2 separate regions of the Homo sapiens genome follow, and region 2 is linked to region 1. The links are contacts of gene promoters, found by promoter capture Hi-C in blood cells and fetal thymus (Javierre and others, 2016). All regions are on one chromosome and are shown on one strand. The core of a region is centred on a gene start or on the middle of the fragment in contact, and the rest is flanking DNA. Distances in the headings are between cores, read along the strand shown. Region 1 holds the start of WDHD1 (WD repeat and HMG-box DNA binding protein 1). Region 2 overlaps KTN1 (kinectin 1).

Region 1 (4,469 bases), core at 1,467-3,966:
ACCGTAACATTCAGAAATGTAGACGTTATCCCTGTTGCCTCTTTCTCCATCCTTAATATCTGATCCATCCTGTTGACTTTATCTTTTTAAATATTTCCTGAATGTTTACTCTTTTCTACACACCCATGTTTACTCTAGTCCAAGCTTCTATCACACTTACCCAAACTTGTGGGGAAAAGCAAGAGAGATCAGATTGTTACTGTGTCTGTGTAGAAAGAAGTAGACATAAGAGACTCCATTTTGTTATGTACTAAGAAAAATTCTTCTGCCTTGAGATTCTGTTAATCTATAACCTTACCCCCAACCCCGTGCTCTCTGAAACGTGTGCTGTGTCAACTCAGAGTTAAATGGATTAAGGGCGGTGCAAGATGTGCTTTGTTAAACAGATGCTTGAAGGCAGCATGCTCCTTAAGAGTCATCACCACTCCCTAATCTCAAGTACCCAGGGACACAAAAACTGCGGAAGGCCGCAGGGACCTCTGCCTAGGAAAGCCAGGTATTGTCCAAGGTTTCTCCCCATGTGATAGTCTGAAATATGGCCTCGTGGGAAGGGAAAGACCTGACCGTCCCGTAAAGGGTCTGTGCTGAGGAGGATTAGTAAAAGAGGAAGGAATGCCTCTTGCAGTTGAGACAAGAGGAAGGCATCTGTCTCCTGCCTGTCCCTGGGCAATGGAATGTCTCGGTATAAAACCCGATTGTATGCTCCATCTACTGAGATAGGGAAAAACCGCCTTAGGGCTGGAGGTGGGACCTGCGGGCAGCAATACTGCTTTGTAAAGCATTGAGATGTTTATGTGTATGCATATCTAAAAGCACAGCGCTTAATCCTTTACATTGTCTATGATGCAAAGACCTTTGTTCACGTGTTTGTCTGCTGACCCTCTCCCCACAATTGTCTTGTGACCCTGACACATCCCCCTCTTCGAGAAACACCCACAAATGATGAATAAATACTAAGGGAACTCAGAGGCTGGCGGGATCCTCCATATGCTGAACGCTGGTTCCCCGGGTCCCCTTATTTCTTTCTCTATACTTAGTCTCTGTGTCTTTTTCTTTCCTAAGTCTCTCGTTCCACCTTACGAGAAACACCCACAAGTGTGGAGGGGCAACCCGCCCCTACACAAACTAATACAGGTATCTTCTAACAGTCTTTCTGCATCCATGAGTGCTCCTTTTCCAATTCATCCTCCATGCATTTTCTCAAAAACAAACCTGATCACATCTCTCTGCTTCAAGCCTTTAATACCTTCTCAGTGCTTTTAGGATAAAACGAGATTCCTTAATAAAGTCCAGAAGGTCTTGGATAGGACATCCATTGCCTAACTTCACAGATTCATCTCTCACTAAACTCTGCATCACTCTCCACATTTTAGTAAGGCTAGTTTTCCTTCAGTTCTTTGAGCATACCATGATCCCTGGCCCCATTGGGCCTTTACACACAGTATTGCCTCTGCTTACTATGCCAACATCACCACCCCACCGCCACCACCACTCATCTCTTTATACTGCTTAATGCCTGCTCCGTCTTCAGATGGCGTCTCAAGAAACACTTGTCCAAAGAAGCCTTCCCTGACTCCTTTAACTAGATGAGCTTCTCCTCATACATGTTTATCACTGCACATATTACTTGTTTCTAAATACACATTTATTTTTGTGATTAATTTGTGTTCAATGCCTGTCAATCCAAAAAGACCTTAAGCTCAAAGGAGGAAAAGACTGTGTCTGGTTCGCTCTATTCTATCTGTAGTCCCCAGCAAAAGAGACACACAAGTATTTTTTCAATGAATCAATCAACATAGAAGCGACAGTGGAAGCCGTGCAATCGAGCAGTAGTGCGTAAGAATGGGACTTGGAAAGATAAAAGGGACCAGAATAACCGTAGGAAAATATTATAGTTTAGGAATCAGAGGAAAAAATTGTTTTAAGCCGTCAAAAAGTTAAAAAAAAATAAGCAAAAAGGGAAATAGCATCACTAAAGGCATGGAAGGATATCATTCCAAACAGAACAGGCCACTGAATTTGACAAGTAGGCAGTAACTAGTGATCTGACAAAATTAATAATGTAAGATGCAGGGAAGGGGAAAATATATGGAGAGAAGCTCGCATCTTTCCAACTCCTCTGGAAGTACGATTATAACTTTGTCGATATACTACAACTACCATGACGGCCCGAATCAAACAATAATCTAAAGAAATATGTGTGCCATTTTAGATTTCAACATTATTCCTCTATCCGCATGAGTCATTTTTAGCTGACTGCACATATAAAGTTTAAGGATAAATGTTTTAACATTTGCACCTAAAACGTTGTTTCTCAAAGAACCTTACCTCCCAGAATCATCAAAACAGACCTCCGTGTGTCCCTCTGTATGCCCATATCTCATTGGCTTCCGTGTGGCAGGCATGTTTTCCTTTACCTATCTGAAAATGTTTTATAAAAGCCAGTCTTATTATTTCAAAAGAGAAAAGCAGCGAGGCTAGGGATAGGAAGAGAGCTTAGTCTCCTCTAGGGCCCGTTCTCCGCAGCCCGGTTTCCCCCACCCGAGTGACACCAGCGGGATAAGGCAGAGGGTCTGTCAGACAATAAGCCGGAAAGGGAACACGCATCTCCTTGGTGGACGCGGGCAGCCGGAGTGGGGACTCACCCGGGTGACCGAGCCTCCGCCACTGAGGATCCACAAGAGCTGCTTCCCGCGCTTCGGCTCGCTCACCACACTGCGCCTGCGCCGACCCGCCCACGCCCAGCGCAGGTCCCGACAGAGGTCGCCGGGTGGTGGCGTCAGCTGCGGCGCCCTCCGCGTGGAAATTAGCCGGTTGCCCGGGCAAATCAGGGAGGAAGGGAGGGAGCTGAACACGGAAGTGGTGGCGGCGCCCAGGGAACCGGCGGAGGCGATGACCGTGACGGCTGGGTTGGGACCGGAACGCCGAAGCGGGGTTGGGGGTGGCAGAAAAGCATCTGCTTTGTAAGACCTACACGAGGTGCAGGAGTGGTTGGGCCTCCCCTCTCCACTTAAGCAAGCGCCCAGACTGATGGCGATGGTGATGGCAGCAGTTACTCGCACAACCCCAGTTAAGCTGCGCTCCGGGAGGTGAGTGGGGGAAGGGTGGCCGCTGCCTGGCCTCGCAGGCCGGGGTCTTGTTCCTGCCCTCCAGGCTCTCCTCCCAGGAAACAATATCCGGATCCCTAAAAGGATCCGGTCTCTTTCTTGGGGCCCAGTTAGCAGACAGATCTTTGAGCATCTTCTCTGGAAAAGAAGGCGAGATCTTCTAGAGCCTCTAATCTTGGCATCCTTCGTGCCCTCACCTTGTCGCTTCTGTAGAGATAAAGAAGGAATGACTTAATTTCTGTTCCGGTTGGTTCTCTTGGTACCTGAAGGTATAATTAATTAATGCTCAATTAATGCTTATTCTTTGCGACTCTATATATCCGTTATGAAGAAAGTAACTTGTGTTCTCTATTCAGATCCCACCTAAAGTTTACTGAAGTGAATATTTATAACCAAAAGAAGAGTTATAACTTAGTAGCCTTGAGCACTTACATTTGATCCATGCAATATCTGCTAAAGTCTTGGCCACTAAGTTTAAGTTTATGCTTTTCTTGTATCTTCATTCTCCATATTGGTACAGCAGCCTGTGATGAAAACCTTCAGAATGATATTCTTTCATTTGTACTTATCTTTGAGAATTTTTCTGCGTTTTTGTGATACCTTCCAGTATCAATCACATTTATTTTATTACCTGAGACGTTTTTCTGTTGAAGAGGTTTCCCTATTGTTTTTTTCAATCTAGTTCCATTGTGAAAAGTTGCAAACACACAGGCAAACCGTCGTGTTCTTACCGTGGGTGGCATTGTGTGAGGCGTTGTTTTTAGTACTAGAGCTCCAGATAGCCTTGCTAGACGCTGAGGTTTGTATATGAATGAAGAGGAAGAATGATTGGCTTAAAAACAACTTGGGATTTGTGGAAAAATAACCCACTGTTGATCTCCCGAAAGAGCAGTGGTACCAGAGATGATGCTTTCTGAGTGACCTAATTTTTTTTTTTTGGAGATCATTTGTTTTTTGGATAGACTGGCTTATAAATTTTTTCGTTCAAGTAACAATATCATTGGCTAGAGTACATAGAGTTCAAGATGAACTCTCATAATATTCGTCTCTATGTTGAATAAAGCGTGGTGAGATTTCTGGTTAGTACTATTCAGAGCTCAGCATAAGAAGAATCTGCAAATTGGAACAAGTTATAGCTACAAAATGCCTTCACTATAATATCTGTAATACCCATGAGACTATGATTGATGTCCACACATCTGTCATTTTCTCTTATCAATCAAGCCATTTGATTCATAGGTTAAAGAACAATTTTCTTTGCAGATTTTGCATGTATGGTAAAAGCTTGAGCCTCCGAGTTTAACAGTCCTGGGTTTTAATTCTAACTGACACATTGTGTGACCTTGAATATGTTCCTTTACT
Region 2 (4,469 bases), core at 1,191-3,690, 560 kb after region 1:
TATAAGCCTTTTTCCCTCCTCTATAAATAGAAAATTAAACATTAAGGGGAAGAACCTTATGTGCTGTGAACTAAGGGGTTTAATTTAACCTTCTGTATCTGAGGTCTAGAGAAAGAGAAATAATGACAGTTTACAACTGTGTGCCGAGCTGTTGTGCTTAAATGTGTTTTTGACAGAGGTGGCAGTGAAAACTAGGCTATTTTTCTTTTTTAAAAAATGGTACAAGCTTTTAATTGGTTTTATGTAAAAGAAAATAGGCAAGATATACTTTTAATTCTAACAATAGTTTTAGTAGATACTCTGATAGGAAATATAATATTCCTCGGAAATGTAGAAGACATACCCTAAAAAAAGTTATGATTTAGTATTTTACGAATCGTCCTAGCTACTACAGGGAGATTAAGAACTCTTCCGTAACTTAAATCTGGTTTCAGCAAAGTGATTTGTACACTAAATGTAATTTGTTTGCACTCTTCTTCCAGGACATTCTGCTTTTTGGGCTTTCTCCTTCCTAATTGCTTTGTTCATTCTATCTTACATCTTCTACTCTTAAACTTGACATGCTCAGTCCTTGTTTCACTTTTCTTTTTATATTCCTCTGACAATCTTATCCAGTGTCATGGTTTTAAATACCTATATGCTGATGGCTCCCATATTTATATCTCCAACCCAGACTTTCCACATGTGCTGTTAGGCCTATCCACTTGGATGTGCAGTAGTCAACTCCAACTAAATTTCCGTATTTTTCCTCAAACATGTTTGATGTTTGATGTTTCCATCAAACATTCAGGTAAAAAAACGTTGGAGTCATCCCTGACTTATTTCTTTCACACTTGGCATTCTGTGCTCTGTCTTATCTTGAAAATATAACCAGAATCCAATCAGTACTTACTGCTTCCACTGCTCACCAGCCTGGTGCAAGCCATTCTTATCTCTTACCTAGATTTCTGCAATTAGCCTCCTAACTGATCTCCCTGCCTCTGCCCTAACTCCCTGCAGTCTTTCCAACACAACAACTGGATCATATTACTTATCTTCTCAGAATGCTACAGTGACTTTCTCTATGCACAGTGAAAGCTGAAGTTCTTATGTCCTTAAGGCCATGCAGAATCTGGACACTTCCACTCTCCTCATTCCCCCTTACCTCTAAGGTTAGCTACTATCATCCCTCTGCTTACTTCTCTCTGGCTCCAATGGTTTTCCTAAGGGCAGCTACATATCAGACACTGCCCTAAACGCTTAGGCTCCATCAATAAACAAAACAGACGAAAAGCTCTGCCCTGATAGAAGTTGTGTAATAGTGTATGTTTGAGGGCAAGGGGAAGAGATAATAAACACAATCAATGAGGAAATTATATACTGTTTACTTCTCCTGGCAAGAAGGTGACAAGTGCCATGGAGGAAACAGAGCTGTTTTTTACACTGGCTGTTACCCTGTAGATACATGCATGGCTTGTTGTCTCCGTCCAGTCTTTGCTTTTTAAATGTCAGTTTCTTAAAAAGATGTGCCTATTTTATTTAAAACTGCACTCCCCTACGTCTGATTCTTGTACCTTGCTCCGTTTTCTTTATAGCATTTGTCACCTTCTGTCATACTATATAATTTCCTGGTTGTGTTTATTGTCTCTTCCACATAACCCTCAAACACAGTATTACATAGCTTCTATGAGGGTAGGCTTTTTGTCTGTTTTATTGATGACTCTTTAAGAGTTCAGAGCAGTGTCTAGCACATAGCAGGTCCTCAATAAGAATTTGTTGAACACAATAATTAAATCCTGGCTGGGTGTGATGACCCACATCTGTAATGCCAGCACTTTGGGAGGCCAAGGTGTGTGGATTGCTTGAGCCCAGCAGTTTGGGACCAGCCTGGGCAACGTGGCAAAACCCCATCTTTAAAAAGAATATAAAAATAGCCAGGCATGGTAGCGTGTGCCTGTGGTCCCGGCTTCTTGGGAGGCTGAGGTGGGAGGATTGCTTGAGCCAGGGAGGTGGAGGTTGCAGTGAGCTGAGATGGTGCGACTGCACTCCAGCCTGGGTGACAGAGTGAGACTGTGTCTCAAAAAAAAAAAAAAAAAAAAAAAAATCTCACATTCCTTCCTTTGATGGATAACTCATTATTGGATACATGTAGTTTTCAGTTTGCTCCTTTCCTCTTTCAGGGATGGTCAGAGAGTGGAAGAAAGTGGCATGGAGCCTTTGGGAGCTGCTTGGTGGAAGGAATGATGTTAGAGTGTGGTGGAGACCCTCTTACATACTCCACATGATTAGGACCATTTGTTAGTTAATTCAAAAAGTTGGTTAAAGCAAGGAATCAAAATATATGTGCACCTTAAATGTTTTCACTTAAAATATTTGATTTTACTTTTATTTGCCTTTTTATTTTTACTGATTTCTTTTCTTAAAATAAAGGTTATCCTGATTTTCCTTTCATAGATTGTACTCTAAAAGCATTATCTATGATTTCTAGTATTGGTTTCTTTAAAGTGGAATGAAAAGATAGGCACTGGGAAACTCTCCAAGTACAAAATCTTTATAGATTTTTCCAGTTATTCATCAAGGCCTTCCAAAGGATTTAATGTCATTTTTATAGAAATAACACCTTTTGACTCTATTTTCATGTTTGATAGATATATAGAAATAAGTGAGTAGGAGAGTAATTGCTAGCCAGAAACAGCTTTCTGAAGACACCAGCCCATGTATTTTTACAAAGGAGGAGAATGTCAGTTAATCCAGTGAGAGATCCTGTAAGACAGCTTCCACTTTGAATAGGTTCCATAGGGGCCGTAGGATCATAGCAGCCTATAATTACTAGAAGAGAATGTTATTTACCCTTATTTCTTTATTTTGACTCTGAGTAACATCTACAATTAGTTTTCAGAACTTATGTGAATTCAAGTAAGTGTACATTGTCTATCAGGAGACATGATGTTACACTGCATTTTCGCTGGAAAATGTGGGACAATTATTATTCTTATGCATGAGTCATTGAGTTGTTAAGGAAACAATCTGGTCTGGTATAATAAGCTGGAAGTCACTAGTTAGGAGACCTACAGGTCTTAGACCTTATTAACTCTAAGGTTTTATGCAAGTTCTTTATTGTCCAGTTCTTTAATTACATAATGTTCTGTGGGGTAGTGGAAACAGCTTGGGCACTAGGGAGCCTGAAGACCTTGGGCTTGAATTTAGTTTTGCTAGTCAGTACCACTTACTGCATGTGTGATCTTAACCTATATTAACCTGCCTAAGGCTCATTAAGGAATTATCTTACCTCAGTAGTTGCCTCATAAGTGATAGCTAACATTGGAGTACATATTTGCTGTCAAACTCTAAATGCTTTAGGTGCATTATCATATCATATCATATTTAATCTTCTCAACAACCTTATGAGGTAGGTACTATTTGGTGAAAACTAGGGAGACAAATAATTTGTTCAAAGACACAAATATCTTTAGGAGGAGCCTGAATTTTAACTGAGGCATTCTGACTTAGAGCCCATTCTTACCCGTTGAGCTGTTTTATAAGAATGCTTTCTGAAGAAAACAAAACGCTGTCCATGTGCAGCTGTCTAATGTTAGGCATTACAAAGCTAAATTAAGGTTATAAGGATCCCCCTCCCCCCCATAGGAATTAGAAGATTAATTCTTAAAACTAGTGATTTAAATTTAAAGACTTGAAGTTTTTCAAGTGGAGAAAACAGTAAAAGCTACTTAAACCACATGCTATAAAATGTTTTAGTTATATGGAAAGCAGTAGATAGAATGTCGTCCTTTTGTTTCCAAGAAACTTTTCTGTTTCATTTCCTGCATATGTTCATTATAAGTTACTCTTGTGTGATCTTATAGACATTTCTTAATGGTTACCTCGAAAACGCCAACTCTGACCCTACCTAAAAATGCATACCCTCCCTATTCTTTGTCACAGCCTTATTTTTATTCATTGCATTATCAGTCACAACCTGATGTTATAATACGCTTATTTCTTTCTTGGTATCTGCCTCACCTACAAGAATATAAATAATGTGAGGCAGGGACTGTCTTGTTCATCGCTGTGAACTATATGTCTGACACCTAGCTAGTGCTCAATTTGAATGAATGGATGGTCTGATGCTTGAAAATGATTGGGACTCATTGAGTCTTTTGCTTTACTTGCCATCCTTTATTAGCATGGCTAACTGAGTGGTATTTGGTATGCCATATAAAGTGAAACTCTAAGAATAAGGGTTTTAGGTTTACTCTTGGGAGAGTGGAATGGAAAACAATTTGAAACATGAATTTCAGCAAAATGGGTGTGCTTAGTCCCAGTTAATCTTGTTCATCAGTAATGTAAGTGTTCTGAGTGGAATCTGTACATAAATAATTTAGTGAATGCTTGTGTTTAGATCTAATTACCTTTTGAAATAAATTTGGACAAGCTAAGCTGTGCACTGAAAACTCCCTAGTGTTCTGAATGCTATGTTGCAGAACGTTGAA

Evidence for each region. Contacts are between HindIII fragments. The CHiCAGO score rates a contact against its expected background, and 5 or more counts as called.
Region 2: a contact is called between a fragment that was not itself captured here and the fragment with the promoter of WDHD1 in region 1, in 1 of 17 cell types (total CD8 T cells). The highest score is 5.7, in total CD8 T cells.

What each region holds. Positions count from the first base shown.
Region 1 is chr14:55,024,383-55,028,851 of GRCh38, forward strand. WDHD1 (WD repeat and HMG-box DNA binding protein 1) reads right to left here and starts at 2,717. Exons shown (of 26, transcript NM_007086.4): 1 at 2,646-2,717; 2 at 2,329-2,421. The coding sequence starts at 2,405. It overlaps SOCS4 (suppressor of cytokine signaling 4), which reads left to right and starts at 2,854. Exons shown (of 3, transcript NM_199421.2): 1 at 2,854-3,089. RefSeq lists enhancers at 2,539-3,066, 3,067-3,593 and a silencer at 2,695-2,744. The HindIII fragment of the contact is 4,247 bases long and covers 143-4,389 here.
Region 2 is chr14:55,583,074-55,587,542 of GRCh38, forward strand. The region is part of intron 1 of KTN1 (kinectin 1); the gene reads left to right. Among named protein-coding and RNA genes, the nearest start is that of KTN1, 5.1 kb to the left of the region's middle. The HindIII fragment of the contact is 4,433 bases long and covers 225-4,469 here.